Regions from separate parts of the Homo sapiens genome. Here region 2 is linked to region 1. Evidence: promoter capture Hi-C in 16 types of primary human blood cells and fetal thymus (Javierre and others, 2016). All regions are on one chromosome and are shown on one strand. Each heading gives the region's core, a stretch centred on a gene start or on the middle of the fragment in contact. The rest is flanking DNA. Distances are from core to core; before and after follow the strand shown.

Region 1 (7,178 bases), core at 1,342-3,841:
CTTCAGTGAGTCCCATTCCTTGCTCTAGAGAGTTTAATGTCTTAGTCAACACTGGAGGCCCTCTGTGATAAGGTTCTCCTGGTTGTCTTTCCAATCTCATCTCCTCTTCACTCCTCGCAAGCAAACTAACACACAGCCAAGCTCAACTATTTTCAGCTTCCCTAAAAGTACCAAACTAGCTCATTCCTCTCCCTTTTGCATATTAGCTCTTCTGCCTAGAATAACACGTCCCTTCTATTCGGTCTGTCTAGCATGCCACCCAAATTCCTACTCATCATTACATTACGTCCAAGTATACCTTGTGCTGCAGCCAACGTTATATTTTTACACATATCTGTTAAATAATTTACCACACTGCATTTTTTTTCATGTTTGTCTCGTTTATTGATGTTTGAATACTTTGCCAAGAAGTAAGGTATCTTTATTCTTTAATTTTGTATCTCCTATGCTAAACTCTGAAGACTGGCCTATGGCTGTATGAATGAATAAGAATAAAATAACAGAATAATCACTGGTTCTAAATTTTCCAACAGGAAAGTTAGAGGAAGAGAAAAATTCTAAGTAGAAATGGAGATTCAGGAGGCCTGAACAATTATGCGAGTATAAAAGTAGCCACTGGATGTCTTTCATCACCATCTACATTTTCCCCTTACATCTTTTATTACCTCTAGTCTGAGTAAGGACACCTCCAACGAAAAAAGACAAGACAGCAGCCATGTAACAGAAAAGGGAGAAAGGAAAACGGGAAAGGATATAAAGGGAAAACCAACTACTTCGGTAACGTTTCGATTCTCCAGCTCAGGGGAAAGAGAAAACTGGTGATTTTTGTATTAATCTTTATACCTTTAAGCATGTCTTAAAATGCTGTTTTACCGCTGGGCGCGGTGGCTCACACCTGTAATTCCAGCACTTTGGGAGGCCGAGGTGGGTAGATCACCTGAAGTCAGAAGGTCGAGACCAGCCTGCCCAACATGGCGAAACCCTGTCTCTACTAAAGATACAAAAATAGGCCGGGCGTGGTGGCGGGTGCCTGTAAATACCAGTTACTCGGGAGGCTGAGGAACAAGAATCGCTTGAACCCAGGATGCAGAGGTTGCAGTGAGCTGAGATTGCGCCACTGCACTGAAGCCTGGGCGACAGAGAAAGACTCTGCCTCAAAAAATAAATAAATAAAAATAATATTTTAAATGTATGGATAATACCCACAAAGTGTGAAGCTCTGCTCACTTTGAAATCATTTGATAAGTAATATTATCTGTGGTTACTGGATACAGGCATATACATATATATACACATGTGTGTGCCTGTATCTATATTTATAACCTTGAAAAAGACTGCTTTAGTGTTCTTATCAATCTACAGAACAAGTCAACTAAAGCCATTCCATTACCTCCACAACTTCTTAAATCCAGAAAAAGATTAGATACCTACATTAGCAGTAACAAATTGGTACCAACATAAAAGGAAATAAAACTGGCTTATTAACGATGCCCGGCTCTTAAATGTAAAATGAAACGAGTTGATTTTCAAAACTGGTTTCAATTACTAAGAAACCATTCTGTTCAAAGGACGCCTCAAACTTTAACTTATCGTCGGCCCCTTTTTTGGTCTGGGTGTTTTCTCTCTTCAGAAGACATCACATCTCATTCTGATTCAGAACAGGTTTTGCAACTTCTCGGCCCTTTGGACCTGCCACTTCCAGGTGTCTCATTACCTGTTACAGACTAATTACGGACACGTAACGTCTTACACAAAACCGAAAAGCATTTAGTTTCTGAACTAAATGCTTTAAAAAAAAAAGTTTACAATGAAGATGCTGGAAAACTCGTGCATCTGAATAGGACAACTCATTCCCAAGTCCTAGAGGAAAGGAGGCGAAATCAGAGTGAAAGTGCACTGGCTTACGGCTCAAACTGCAGGGCGGGAAAACAAAGCACCTACATTACTCAAAAAAAAAAAAGTTCTAGGTTTCTGGGCGGACACTTATCCTGGGGATACACATAGACACAAGCACGCTTCAATAAAGACGAGAAAGGCCCTCCATACGCCTCCTGGCATCATTAGCTGTATCCCGCTTTACTTCGCCAATATCCAAACATTCTCAGTTTGGATTCTGGGACGCCAAATACCTTCTCTTCTGCCTCCCTATTTCTCCCACACGTCAGGTCTCTCCTGTACGTCCTCCAGGTCTAAAACACTGAGTTTCTGCCCGCCCCCTGGCCTAAGTCCCTTCCTCCTCCGCGTCTCCGAACGCTCTGTCCCCTGTCTCCGGTGTCCCCATCGGCGGCGGGACCCTCTGCCTCGGATTCGAGCCGCCGCGCAGCTCCATTCTTCTCACCTTGGTTACAGAAGAGGCTCCACAGTTTGGCGAAGATCAGCCCCATCACGAGCACCGGGGCGGGCCGCGGGGTCCCTCGGCAGCAGGTGCCGCTGCGCCGGGTCCCCCACCGCGGCGCGGGCTGCGCGGAGCCGAGGAGAACCCGCCTGAGATCGCGCAGCGAGGGCACTGCTAGGCCGAGAAGCCTCGACCCGACCACTCAGAAGGCGCCGCGACGAATCCCCACCGGACAGCCCTTTGTTTCGAGCCCACTGAGCCCAACGCCGACCCGTAGTCCCCTCGGTCTGTACCCACCTACCTACCACAGCCTCTCCACAGCCCCAAGCCCCGCCTCCACCCCGCCTCCCCTCCGGATCCCAGGACCACCCATCGCCGGAAGCTAGGCGCGTGACGACGGCGCACTTACGGCAACCCACGCCTTCGACGTGGCGTTTTCTTCGGTTTCACTTCCGGTAGGAGAGTCCCAAACGGCCAGCGGCTGGGAATTTGCGGTATCGCGGGGGGGTGGGAAATTTCCCTTGGTGCGTGCTCCTTCTGATGTCAGCCTTCAAAACGTTTGTGGGACTCCCCTTTGATTTGAGTCTCTGCTGCTAGCAGCTGCTTCCCTGACCTCTAAAACCAGGAAAGACCATAGGTTCTCTAAGTGAGCAGCCGCCGTTTGCTGCTCTTAGAAAACTCACAGAAGTGAAGAGTGTTTCTTTCCTGACTTATTCCTGTTCCCCTAGGCAGGCGTGCTAGGGGTTAGGAGTTCTGCCGTGATTCTTCTTCATTCATTTATTAATCTATTCATTCACGTATTCATTCATTGGCTTATGCATTTATGTACTCATTGATTGATTGATCGATTGCAGACGAGGTCGGGCTGTGTTGCCCAGGGGGACTCAATTTCCTGGGCTCAAGCGATCTTCCTGCCTCGACTTCCCAAAGTGGTGGGATTGCAGGCTCAGCCACCGCGCCCGGCCCCTGTCGTGATTCTTAGTTCTGAAAAGAATTGATTGGGAGACGAGCCATGGAAGGCCTGGAGCCACAGAGTTCAGTTATGTGATTAATAATAACACATAATAATAACACATAGCACCCCTCTCCATTTTGCCAAGCATTAGGTATGTTCGTGGATCCCAGATCGAAGTCCACGCATAAGCCAATTCGCTGTGTAATTGTTTTCAATTCCACTTTCCATGGTTAGGTTCTAGCATTGAAAAGAAAAGCTTCACAGCCTGGCATGAAACGAAACTGAATGTCCTTGAAACCAGTTGACGGAGGAGCAAGCTTAAAATTTTTTTAGACTCTGACTTCAGTCAGATGGTTGGATTTTAACCTTGGCAACGTGGCCTTTTAACATGCCAAACTCTTGAGTTAACCTGTACAAGGAGAATGTATGACTTACGTCCTCCCAGTGCTATGGTTTAAAGACCCTTTAAGACTTAGATGCAGGATAATATGCTCCAACGTTACAACATTAAAGGCAAGTTTCAACCTCCTATGTAGAGGAAAAAGAATGTACTGACCCTATGCAAACTTAACTTTCATGACTATCAGTTGGACCATAAATGTGAATAATTTTGTGTTTGTGTAAGTAATGGCTTAAAAGGACATTTTTAGTCCTAGCTTCATTATCACAAAACAAACTTTAGATTCCGTAACAGCTTCTTCAATTGTTAGACATGGATGTAAACCACATTCTGCTTTTTTTTTTTTTTTCTGGCTTTCGGATTTCTAAGAAACCATTTCTGAAAAGAACAAAGCATTTTTGTATGAAGATGCAGACATTTGGCTGGGCGCTGGGGCTCATGCTTGTAATCCCAGCACTTTGGGAGGCTGAGGCGGGTGGATCACGAAGTCAAGAGATGGAGACCATCCTGGCCAACATGGTGAAACCCTGTCTCTACTAAAAATACAAAAATTAGCCGGGTGTGGTGGCACGCGCCTGTAATCCTAGCTACTCAGGAGGCTGAGGCAGGAGAATTGCTTGAACCTGGGAGGCAGAGGTTGCAGGGAGCAGAGATCACACCAGGGCACTTCAGCCTGGCGACAGAGTGAGACTCCGTCTAAAAAAATAAAAATAAAAATAAAATAAAGAAAATGCAGAGATTTGAAGCAAAAAAAACTATAGATTTCTTAAACATTTTTATGATATTTTAGAGACAGTAAGTTTGAATTATACTTCTACTTTTAACTAAGTGGAATGAATGTATTTATTTGAACATGGCTCTTGATATTTTTATTGGTTTTGTTTCTTTGAAATTTCAGAAAACTTTAGTGTTGAAGTTTTCAGTTCGTTAAAATTTACTTTTAACTTACTTTTAACACCTTTCTTATGAACAATTTACCTGACAATGAGACTGTTCTAATATTTTAAAAATATTTTTTCATATTTAAAAGTTTTGTTTGCTGATTTGGAAATCTAAAATTTTTACAAACTGGAGGGAAAGAAAAATAGCCACAATTATCAAAAGTAATATGATTGATTAACAGAATATAGTTGTGTATTATCTAAACAGATATCATGCTGATGTACCTATCGATCTGTTAGAAAAAATACTTTCAATTACATTAGGAGAGGCACGGTGGCTCATGCCTGTGATGCTAGCAGTTTGGGAGGCCAAGGCAGGTGGATTACTTGAGCCCAGGAATTTTAGATCAACCCAGACAACATGGAGAAATCCTGTCTCTCCAAAAAAATACAAAAGTTAGCTGGACATGGTGGTGCACATGTGTAGTCCCGACTAATGAGGTGGCTGAGGCAAGAGGCTCATTTGAGCCAAGGAGGTCAAGACTGCAGTGGGCTAAGATCGTGCATCTGGACTCCAGCCTGGGTGACAGTGAGACCCTGTCTGAACCAAAAAAAAAAAAAAAAAAAAAAAAAAGGATTGTAACTAATTTTCTTAAGTGTTCATTGGAAATAACTTCCTTTAATTAAATTGGAATCCCAGTAAAATCTCTATCCAGTTCAACAAAATATTTTAAAGAGTTCAAGGAAGAAAAATGTCAAACAACTCGGGAATTCAAAAAATAAAACTATAAGATGTTTTTAAAAGGAACTATTACAAACTAACTTCAGATAATACTTGGAAGAGCTAGCTGTAGCTGTAATTGAATTCAATTTATTACTTATACAACTCTGATCAATTTGTCCATTGCTTTTTTTAAACGGAGTCTCACTCTGTCACCTAGGCTGGAGTGCAGTTGTGTGATCTCAGCTCACTGCAACCTCTGCCTCCCGGGTTCAAGCAGTTCTCCTGCCTCAGTCTCTTGAGTAGCTGGGATTACAGGCATGCACCACCATGCCCAGTTAATTTTTGTATTTTTAGTAGAGATGGGGTTTCACCATGTTGGTCAGGCTGGTCTTGAACTCCTGACCTCGTGATCCACCTGCCTTGGCCTCCCAAAGTGCTGGAAGCCACCATTTTTTAACTTTCCTCAACCTTTAAGGTAATGCCCATTGTGATTTTAGTTTAGTTGATCAGTCTCCAGATTAGGTGTGACTGATAGATTTCCCGTCAGAAAATTCTACCTGCCATATGGTCTGAAATCAATATGATCGCCTTCTGTAAATATCTATTGAGAGACCAACAATTTTTGATGCTGTAAGTAATATAAAAGAAACTCACGTCTCGCTCCTATCATTACGAAAAGTGTATTGATAAAATGTTGATAAATTTCTGACAAAGTTGCTTTATGTTTACAAAGAGAAGCCATAATATCCTGAGTTTCAAAATATCTACTAGATCAAACTAGCCGTAGGTCTATGACTTTGGTCATAATTCAATCAATGAGAATTGACATCTCTTCTGTAGTTTAGGGCTCAATGTCACCAGCCTTCCTACATTTGATAAATGCTCCTTCCAACAGGTACTTCAAAGCTTGTATCATCAACACATGTAGTCCTTTAGGGGCTCGGCTGCTCAGTGTGGCAGTCATGGTGGCTTATAAATTACCCATTTATAGTAGGTTTTTGGCTTTTGAAGCTGACTCAATTTCTTGAAGCTTCTGGTCCTGTCTTCTCTGGAAACAGCTTTGCCCCTCTTTACTACAGTCCCATTCCTTCGGGTGGAGCCTCTTACATTTCCTAAACACCTGAAATCTTCACTCCTCCCTTAGATAGAAAAGTTGACTCTCTTGACATGTCAGAATTTAGGTCACTTTAGTTCTTTCCTCACAAATGACGTTTCACTATCCTATAGCCATTCCTTCAGTACATGTATATTAATACTATGTAACATTTACAGAGGACTTTGTTCTAGTACCATTTAAAGCACTCTACCTAATTTGTTTGGTTTATAGTAAAATTGTGAAGCAGGAGCTATTATCTGTATTTCACAGATGAAGAAACTGAAGTGAAAAGAACTTTAATACTTGACTGAGGTTGCAAGAACTGGAATCTGCACCCTAGTAGCTTGACACCAGAGGTGTCAAAGATATAGATTGCCCAGGAACCCTGCTAAACTTCAGTCATATGTTAATACCATTTTCTTTGTAAGAATCTATGTTGTTTGTTCCTTTCTTAGGTGGGAAGGATACGAGCAAGATAAAGCAGCGAGGGATTTAAGTCTGGCAACAGTTGGACTGCTGGATTTTCAGAGAAGTGTTCCCCAAAGCAAATTATAGTGCTAATTTCCAATGTTCCATAAGCGTGGCAAGAAAAATGGGAAGTTCTCGGTAAGGTATATAGTATTATTTCTAGAAATAAAGATGAACCAATCCAAGATTGATTTTTTGTTTGTTTAATCCTGGCAGTATTCTTAACTAAATTGTATTCATTCTTCCCTTTACTTTCCAGACTTTTTAATTTTATTTATTTTTTTATTTTTTGAGACAGAGTCTTGCCCAGGCTGGAGTG
Region 2 (7,178 bases), core at 2,028-4,527, 8.5 Mb before region 1:
AATTAAAAATACATAAATAAATAAATAAAAATAAAGTTGGAGCACTAAACTGAATAGTCAGTAACACTGGGATCAATTCTCAGGACTGCTATAAGAAAAAAAGGCATATTTCTTTCAAAGATTTATTCGAGTACTTAATAAAATCATTAGTACATGATAAATTCCTGCCTTAACTCCTTTCTTTAAGAAAACTGAGGGAAACTGACAAAGCAAGCTGGTAACATGATTTTTCCTATCATTCCACTGGCTATGAGGGCATGTGTGTTTTGTTCCCCATTGTTGTCCAGTTCGTAGACACAAAGAGGGTGGGTGCTAAGCAAATACTGACTGAACACATGGATTGGTGTTTTCATTTCAACTGATCATGACTAAGTACTGTAGAAGGAAAAGTAAAAATCTCAGGAACATATAAAGTAACCAATTCAATCAGATCTTCCAATTCTGAAAGATTAGGGAAGGTGTGAAGGGGAGCTAAGATGAATCTTAATACATGAATAAGACAGGTGGAGAAGAGCACAAAAGGGTAGAAGAAAAGCACTTAAAAAGGAACCAGCATAAGGCCAGGCACGGTGGCTCACCCCTGTAATCCCAGCACTTTGGGAGGCTGAGGCGGGCAGATCACCTGAGCTCAGGAGTTTGAGACCAGCCTGCCCAAAATGGTGAAACCCCGTCTCTACTAAAAATACAAAAAATTAGCCCGGTGTGGTGGCGGGAATCCCAACTACTCGGGAGGCTGAGGCAGGAGACTCGCTTGAACCCGGGAAGTGGAGGTTGCAGTGAGCTGAGATCACGTCACTGTGAAACTCTATCTCAAAAAAAAAAAAAAAAAAATTCATAGCAGGGCAGGGCGCGGTGGCTCACACCTGTAATCCCAGCACTCTGGGAGGCCGATGTGGGCGGGTCACCTGAGGTCAGGAGCTCCAGACCAGCCTGGCCAACATAACCAAAACAACCTGGCTAAATTCAATCTCGGCTAAAAAAAAAACTACACAAATCAGCCAGGCATGGTGGCGCGCGCCTGTAATCCCAGCTACTCGGGAGGCTGAGACAGGAGAATCGCTTGAACCCAGGAGGCAGAGGCTGCAGGGAGCCGAGACTGCACCACAGCACTCCAGCCTGGGCGACAGAGAAAGACTGTCTTAAAAAAAAATTATTAAAGACTTCTCAGAAAATAGTAATCTTTCTTCTGGTTAAGAATAAAACTTAAAAAGTTATCAGTGCCTACAGATTAATCACTCTTCTGTGGTAGAAAAATTTCGACGATTCTGCACGTCAAAGCAAACAAGGTAAACAAAACCACTAATTACTAAAAACCTTTTGGATTTAGAAACCTAACTCGCCGGGCGCGGTGGCTCACGCCAGTAATCCCAGCACTTTGGGAGGCCGAGGCGGGCGGAATACGAGGTCAGGGAATCGAGACCATCCTGGCTAACACGGTGAAACCCCGTCTCTACTAAAGAAACCCCGTCTCTACTAAAAATACAAAAAATCAGCCGGGCGTGGTGACGGGCGCTTGTAGTCCCAGCTCGTCGGGAGGCCGAGGCAGGGGAATGGCGTGAACCCGGGGGGCGGAGCTTGCAGTGAGTCGAGATTGCGCCACTGCACTCCAGCCTGGGAAACAGAGCAAGACTCCGCCTCAAAAAAAAATAAAAAAGAAACCTAACTCAAGCCAGGGTGAGACTACGAATCACGGCTTTGGCTTTAAGTGCCTGTTGTACTAAGACCGATGTAATCACCTCGGTCAAGTCCCTTTGCCTTTGGCCTCAGTTTCCTCATTTGCTAACGCTGGGCAGGGAGAAGAGAGTCAAACTTTGCTGTTCTCACTGGGCATCTGAGATATGGAGGGAAGGGCGGAACAGAGGCGAGACACCCGACCCGACCGCTGATGTCGCCCCAAAAAGAAGTCAGCTCGCAGGGCTCTGGAGGCTTCAGCAAGCCAGGCCACCCAGACTCCTCGCTCCAGCAACCCCGGGGCCTGCCCAAGCCGGTGGGGCAGGAAGGAGGGCCGAAGGGCCTAACCCCTTCCTTGCTACTCGTTGACTTCCTACCTTTACTGCATACAATTTGCCGCCTTTCTGCCCCAGATACACTTTCCCGAAGGCGCCCCGGCTAATGGGCTTCACTATGCTGAATTCCTCAATGGAGGGCGGTTTTGGCACTGCGATCCTATTCACGCCCTCCTCAGTCGCCGCGCCTCCTCCAGGCTCCTTCTTGCTTCCCGCGGTGGGATCCATCGCTGGACAGCATACAGCGGCCCCGCAGACACTGCCCCTCCGCGAGCAGCCACTCCCGCCAACTGGGTTCAAAGTGAGGCTCCGCCCACGCCGCGCGCGGCCGTGACGTCACCCCGCCGCCGCGCCCCGCCCTCGTCACCTCCCCTACGCAGACGCGGACGGAGGGGGCGTCGGGAAAGCCCCGACTTCGCAGCCTTACACTCTTCGTGGGCGGCGACCGCGGCCCCACTGACATCATTCCTCATGAGGGAGGAGGCACAAACAGTTCTGGGCCGACCAGAAAAAGGACGACTGGGACTTGACTCTGAATCGCAGGATTTGAAGAGATTTCTCCTGGCTTCCCAACGAGGCTGGTGGGAAGCGGTCCTCCTCCCATACACGACCTCCCACCCTCGCGAGGCGTAGAAACCAGTTCTGACTGTACAGTAAAGCGAGGGCCAGGGCTGAGGTCTGGAAGCTAATGAAAGCACAGAAAGTGTCGAAACTGGATGAGCAGGAAGCGAGTGGCCTCCCCTGTCATCTGACGTTTTCCCAGGATGTAATTTGCCTGACTGAAACAGATCAGGACCAACAGGGAGAGTTTTCGATTTAGTGTGAGGAAAAGAGCACTAAATTGTAGCAAAAGACCTTATTGCTCAAGGCCCAGTCAGAAGATTTCATAAGGAAGCTGTAGAAAGTCTTAAGAGGAAATCAGCCGGGCGTGGTGGCGGGCACCTGTAATCCCAGCTACTCGGGAGGCTGAGGCAGGAGAATCGCTTGAACCCGGGGAGCAGAGGTTGCAGTGAGCCGAGATCGCGCCACTGTACGCCAGCCTGGGCGAAAGAACGAAACTCCGTCTCCAAAAAAAAAAAAAACGAAGAAAAAGTCCAAAGAGGGTAAAGGCTGTTCTCCCCTTAAAAAACAGCTAAAGACCTTTGGGGGCGCTGCTCCTTGTAAATGTCAACTACTTCCGCGGGAAAGAACGCGCAGGCACTTGGCCTTGTGGGCGCTCACTTGCCCCGGAAGTACTGTTGAGTTAGCGCCTCGCCTTCCGGGGCGGATTGTCTGTCGTTGCAGTAGCTGTAGGAAGGGGAGGCCATTTTCCGTTTCTGGGAGGAGTGAGGGGCAACGGGTCGGAGAAAAAGGAAAAAAGAAGGGCTCAGCGCCTCCCCGCCGGGCCGTGGACAGAGGGGCACAGTTTCGGCAGGCGGGTGAGGTCGCTGAGGGCCCGCCGGAGATGTTTTCCTTGTCGAGCACGGTGCAACCCCAGGTAAGCCAGGCATTCAGCCCATTTTTTTTCCTCCCGCCCTGCCCGTGGCTGTTTGCAAATTGCGCTCGTGGAAGCGATTTCTCAGAAGGGACTCTAGAAATGAAGTGATGTACTCAATGCGAATCCCAGGATTGAGGAGTGGATCAGGGGACGACGCTGAGAGTGGGCCGGAGACTTCAGTGCTGACGATGAAGCTGTTGAGGGCAGAGGCGGGATGTGAGCTCAGTGATAGAGAGAGACCCTGGCTTATCGAACTGATTGCGTGGAATTTCTGCTAGAGAATCCGTCCGGCATTGTTCAGTGTCCGGCGTTCTGGGGTGGGAAAATGTCTGTACCATACATTAAAGGGAGCAGGTAATGTTCCCTTTTTTCCGACTTTCCAGTGGCTTTAGTGTTCACAGCCCCTATCCCCTGCTCTTTATTTCCTTTTAAATGGAATTTAAATTTAACCCAAACATGGTATAATATTTCGGATGGCCAGCCATGCAAGTTTTTTTCTCATTTTGACCAGAAGTAACTAAAATGTGTATTTCCGAGTCGTAAACTGTTTGCAGTTAAAATTTTGATTCAGCCTCATCCTCATCGTTTTGTAAAACAAAAGGTAGTGAAGAGAAAAATGATTTCAAGGGTTTTCATTACGCTCTTGGGCAATCACTTGTGACAATGTTTTATTCTTGCTTCATTCCAGTCTCTTTTTTTGATGGTAACATTTTAATAGATTTTTTGAGAGTTCCTACAGTTTTGCAAAGAAATAGTTTTTAAAACATTGAGTTTTTTTAAAACATAATTTTTAAGAAAATCGACACTCTTAGGTTCTTGATTTAAGCATATGATTGTGTTCCTTTGTGTAACTTTTACTCCCCCTCATTTTAAGAATTTTTAATTTTTTGTGCTAGTACTGGCTAACAAACTGAAGCAGCTGCTTGTTATTGGGCATCAGTTATGTACCAGGTGAGCAAAGCAAATGTGGAATCTTCTCTTAATATTGATATGAAGTAAATATGAGTAGGACTTAGCAAGGTGAAGAGTGAACAGGTATCACAGGCATACAGAAAAATACCTGGAGGTCCTGAGTTAGGAAAGGGTTTAGCAGGTTGAAGGAACAAAAATAAGGCTAGTGTGGCTAGAACATAGTAGTTAAAGGGGGTAGTGACAGAAGAGGTTGGAGAAAAGACTTGAGGCAGATCATACAGGGAGTAAAGGATATATTATGGCTGATTTCATTTTAAGTGTATTGGGAACCATTGAAAGTTTTAAAACATGATTAGATTTTCATTTTTAAGAGATGACTGGCTTTTGCTATATGGAGAATAGGAGAGGGCAAGAGTGGAAGATGTTATCAGCTAAAAATACCCACCCACCCCCCAATTAAAGCTGTTGCAGTGGTTATGGAAAGAAGAGAATGAGATATATTTTGAAGAAAGTGGAATTGCATGAGAGATCAGAGAGATGATGGGGAGAGGTGTTTCTGGGTTTGATCAGATGAATGCATTGAAGGTGCTATTTACCAAGATGACAGTGTCTGGAGAAGTCCTAGTAATTGTTTGAAAAAGAAGTCTGACATGGCCTATTGAATATGGTATTGAAGTTTTTGAAACTCAACTCTTTGCCTTAGTTCACATCAAGAGGCCTGATTTTAGGAGAATTTACCATCAACTGAATGGACAGTTAGTAGTATGTGATGTTGGTAGAGATGATAAAGGGATTTTTATGTACCCTAGGCAGTCTTAACAGGGCTCAAATATAGTGAGGACTCTCAGGCATTTCTTGCTTTGAAGGATGGTAACACATTTGGAATTCCTTGTTGCTTAATTGGTTGAATACACTTGAAATTAAATGGTAAAAAGGAAGACACAGAAAATGAACTTTTTCATTGAGAAGAGCTCAACTCTAAATCCTTTTGTGAAAGAAAAGAGATATAACTAATTCAAATAAAAGAGATATAACTAATTCAAATAAATCTTTTCAAAGAGGTAGAAAATATGTATCTTGAAATGATTTGATTATTTTTAAAGTTTCAAAAGAAGTTACTGTTTATTTTTTTTTCTTTTTACTGCCCCCAGGCTGTAAGGAACTTACTGTTTCTTTCTGACTCTAAAAATGATACATTGCTTCACTTGACTAGCCTTAAAACAAATCCATGTTTTTTTGCTAAAAATGCTGAAAGTATAAATAAGATCGCCCATAATCTCATTACTCAGGGATACGTATCTTAGACTAAATTCTTTCACACATTTTTTTCTATAAACAAACACGGGTATGCATACTTTTTTTTATTTTAATTTTTTTTTTTTTTTAAGATGGAGTCTCGCTCTGTCGCCCAGGCTGGAGTGCAGTGGCGCGATCTCCGCTCACTGCAAGCTCCGCCTCCCAGGTTCACGCCATTCTCCTGCCTCAGCCTCCCAAGTAGCTGGGACCACAGGCGCCCGCCACCACGCCCGGCTAATTTTTTGTATTTTTAGTAGAGATGGGGTTTCACCGTGTTAGCCAGGATGGTCTCCATCCCCTGACCTTGTGATCCGTCCGCCTCGGCCTCCCAGAGTGCTGGGATTACAGGCGTGAGCCACCGCGCCCCCACGGGTATGCATACTTAAGGTAGTTTTACGGTCAGCTTTATTCCTTAGTATGTCACGAATTTATTTGTGTATCAATATCCATGGGATGAGAAGTCTGGAATTTTGAGTCAGATTCTAAATCTTTGTTGTCTTCATCTATTAAATGGTCTGTACCCACAATAATGGCGTTAGTCCATTGATGAGGGCAGAGCCCTCCTGAACTAAATGCCTCTTAAAGGTCCCACCTCTTAACAGGATTACAGTGGCAACTAAGTTTGCCATTGTTCTCAACTCAAACTTGAGTTTTGAAGGAGATAAACACTGGAATTTTTACTGGAAGTGGGCCCTGATCCAGACCCCAAGAGAGGGTTGTTGGATCTCGCACAAGAATTCGAGAGAGTCGCCAGGCGCGGGGACTCACGCATGTAATCCCAGCACTTTGGGAGGCAGAGGCGAGCGGATCACGAGGTCAGGAGATCAAGATCCTGGCTAACATGGTGAAACTCCATCTCTACTAAAAATACAAAAAAATAGCTGGGTGTGGTGGCCTGCGCCTGTAGTCCCAGCTACTCGGGAGGCTGAGGCAGGAGAATCACTCGAACCCAGGAGGCGGTGGTTGCAGTGAGCCGAGATTGCATCACTGCACTCCAGTCTGGGCGACAAAGCGAGATTCCATCTCAAAAAAAAAAAAAAAAAAAAAAAGGCGAGAGAGTCTATAAAGTGAAAGCAAGTTTATTAAGAAGGTAAAGGAGTAAAGAATGGGGTACTCCATAGGCAGAGGAGCTGCTTGGGCTTGTCCACGAAGGATACCTACAGTTAGTTATTTCTTGATTTTATGCTAAACAATGTGTGATTATTCATAAGTTTTCAGGGAAAGGGGGACCCCTAAGGTTCCTCCCCTTTTTAGACCACATAGGGTAACTTCTTGATGTTGCCATGGCATTTTTAAACTGTCATGGTCTGGTGGGAGTGTCTTTTAGCATGCTAATGCATTATAATTAGCACATAATGAGCAGTGAGGACTAGCAGAAGTCACTCTCCTCTCCATCTTAGTTTTGGTGGGATTTGGCTGGCTTCCTTACTACAACCTGTTTTATCATCACGGTCTTTATGACCTGTATCTTGTGCCCACACCCTATC

Evidence for each region. Contacts are between HindIII fragments. The CHiCAGO score rates a contact against its expected background, and 5 or more counts as called.
Region 2: a contact is called between the fragment with the promoter of YME1L1 here and the fragment with the promoter of ARL5B in region 1, in 1 of 17 cell types (total B cells). The highest score is 7.6, in total B cells.

Annotation. Positions count from the first base shown.
Region 1 is chr10:18,654,844-18,662,021 of GRCh38, reverse strand. ARL5B (ARF like GTPase 5B) reads right to left here and starts at 2,591. Exons shown (of 6, transcript NM_178815.5): 1 at 2,339-2,591. The coding sequence starts at 2,384. It also overlaps a transcript of NSUN6 not described here. RefSeq lists a silencer at 2,423-2,502 and enhancers at 2,813-2,942, 3,643-3,762. The HindIII fragment of the contact is 6,724 bases long and covers 1-3,548 here.
Region 2 is chr10:27,150,483-27,157,660 of GRCh38, reverse strand. It overlaps YME1L1 (YME1 like 1 ATPase), which reads left to right and starts at 3,277. Exons shown (of 19, transcript NM_014263.4): 1 at 3,277-3,483. The coding sequence starts at 3,451. MASTL (microtubule associated serine/threonine kinase like) reads right to left here and starts at 2,309. Exons shown (of 12, transcript NM_001172303.3): 1 at 2,049-2,309. The coding sequence starts at 2,234. RefSeq lists enhancers at 1,618-1,867, 2,488-2,547 and silencers at 2,222-2,420, 2,218-2,427. The HindIII fragment of the contact is 10,812 bases long and covers 1-7,178 here.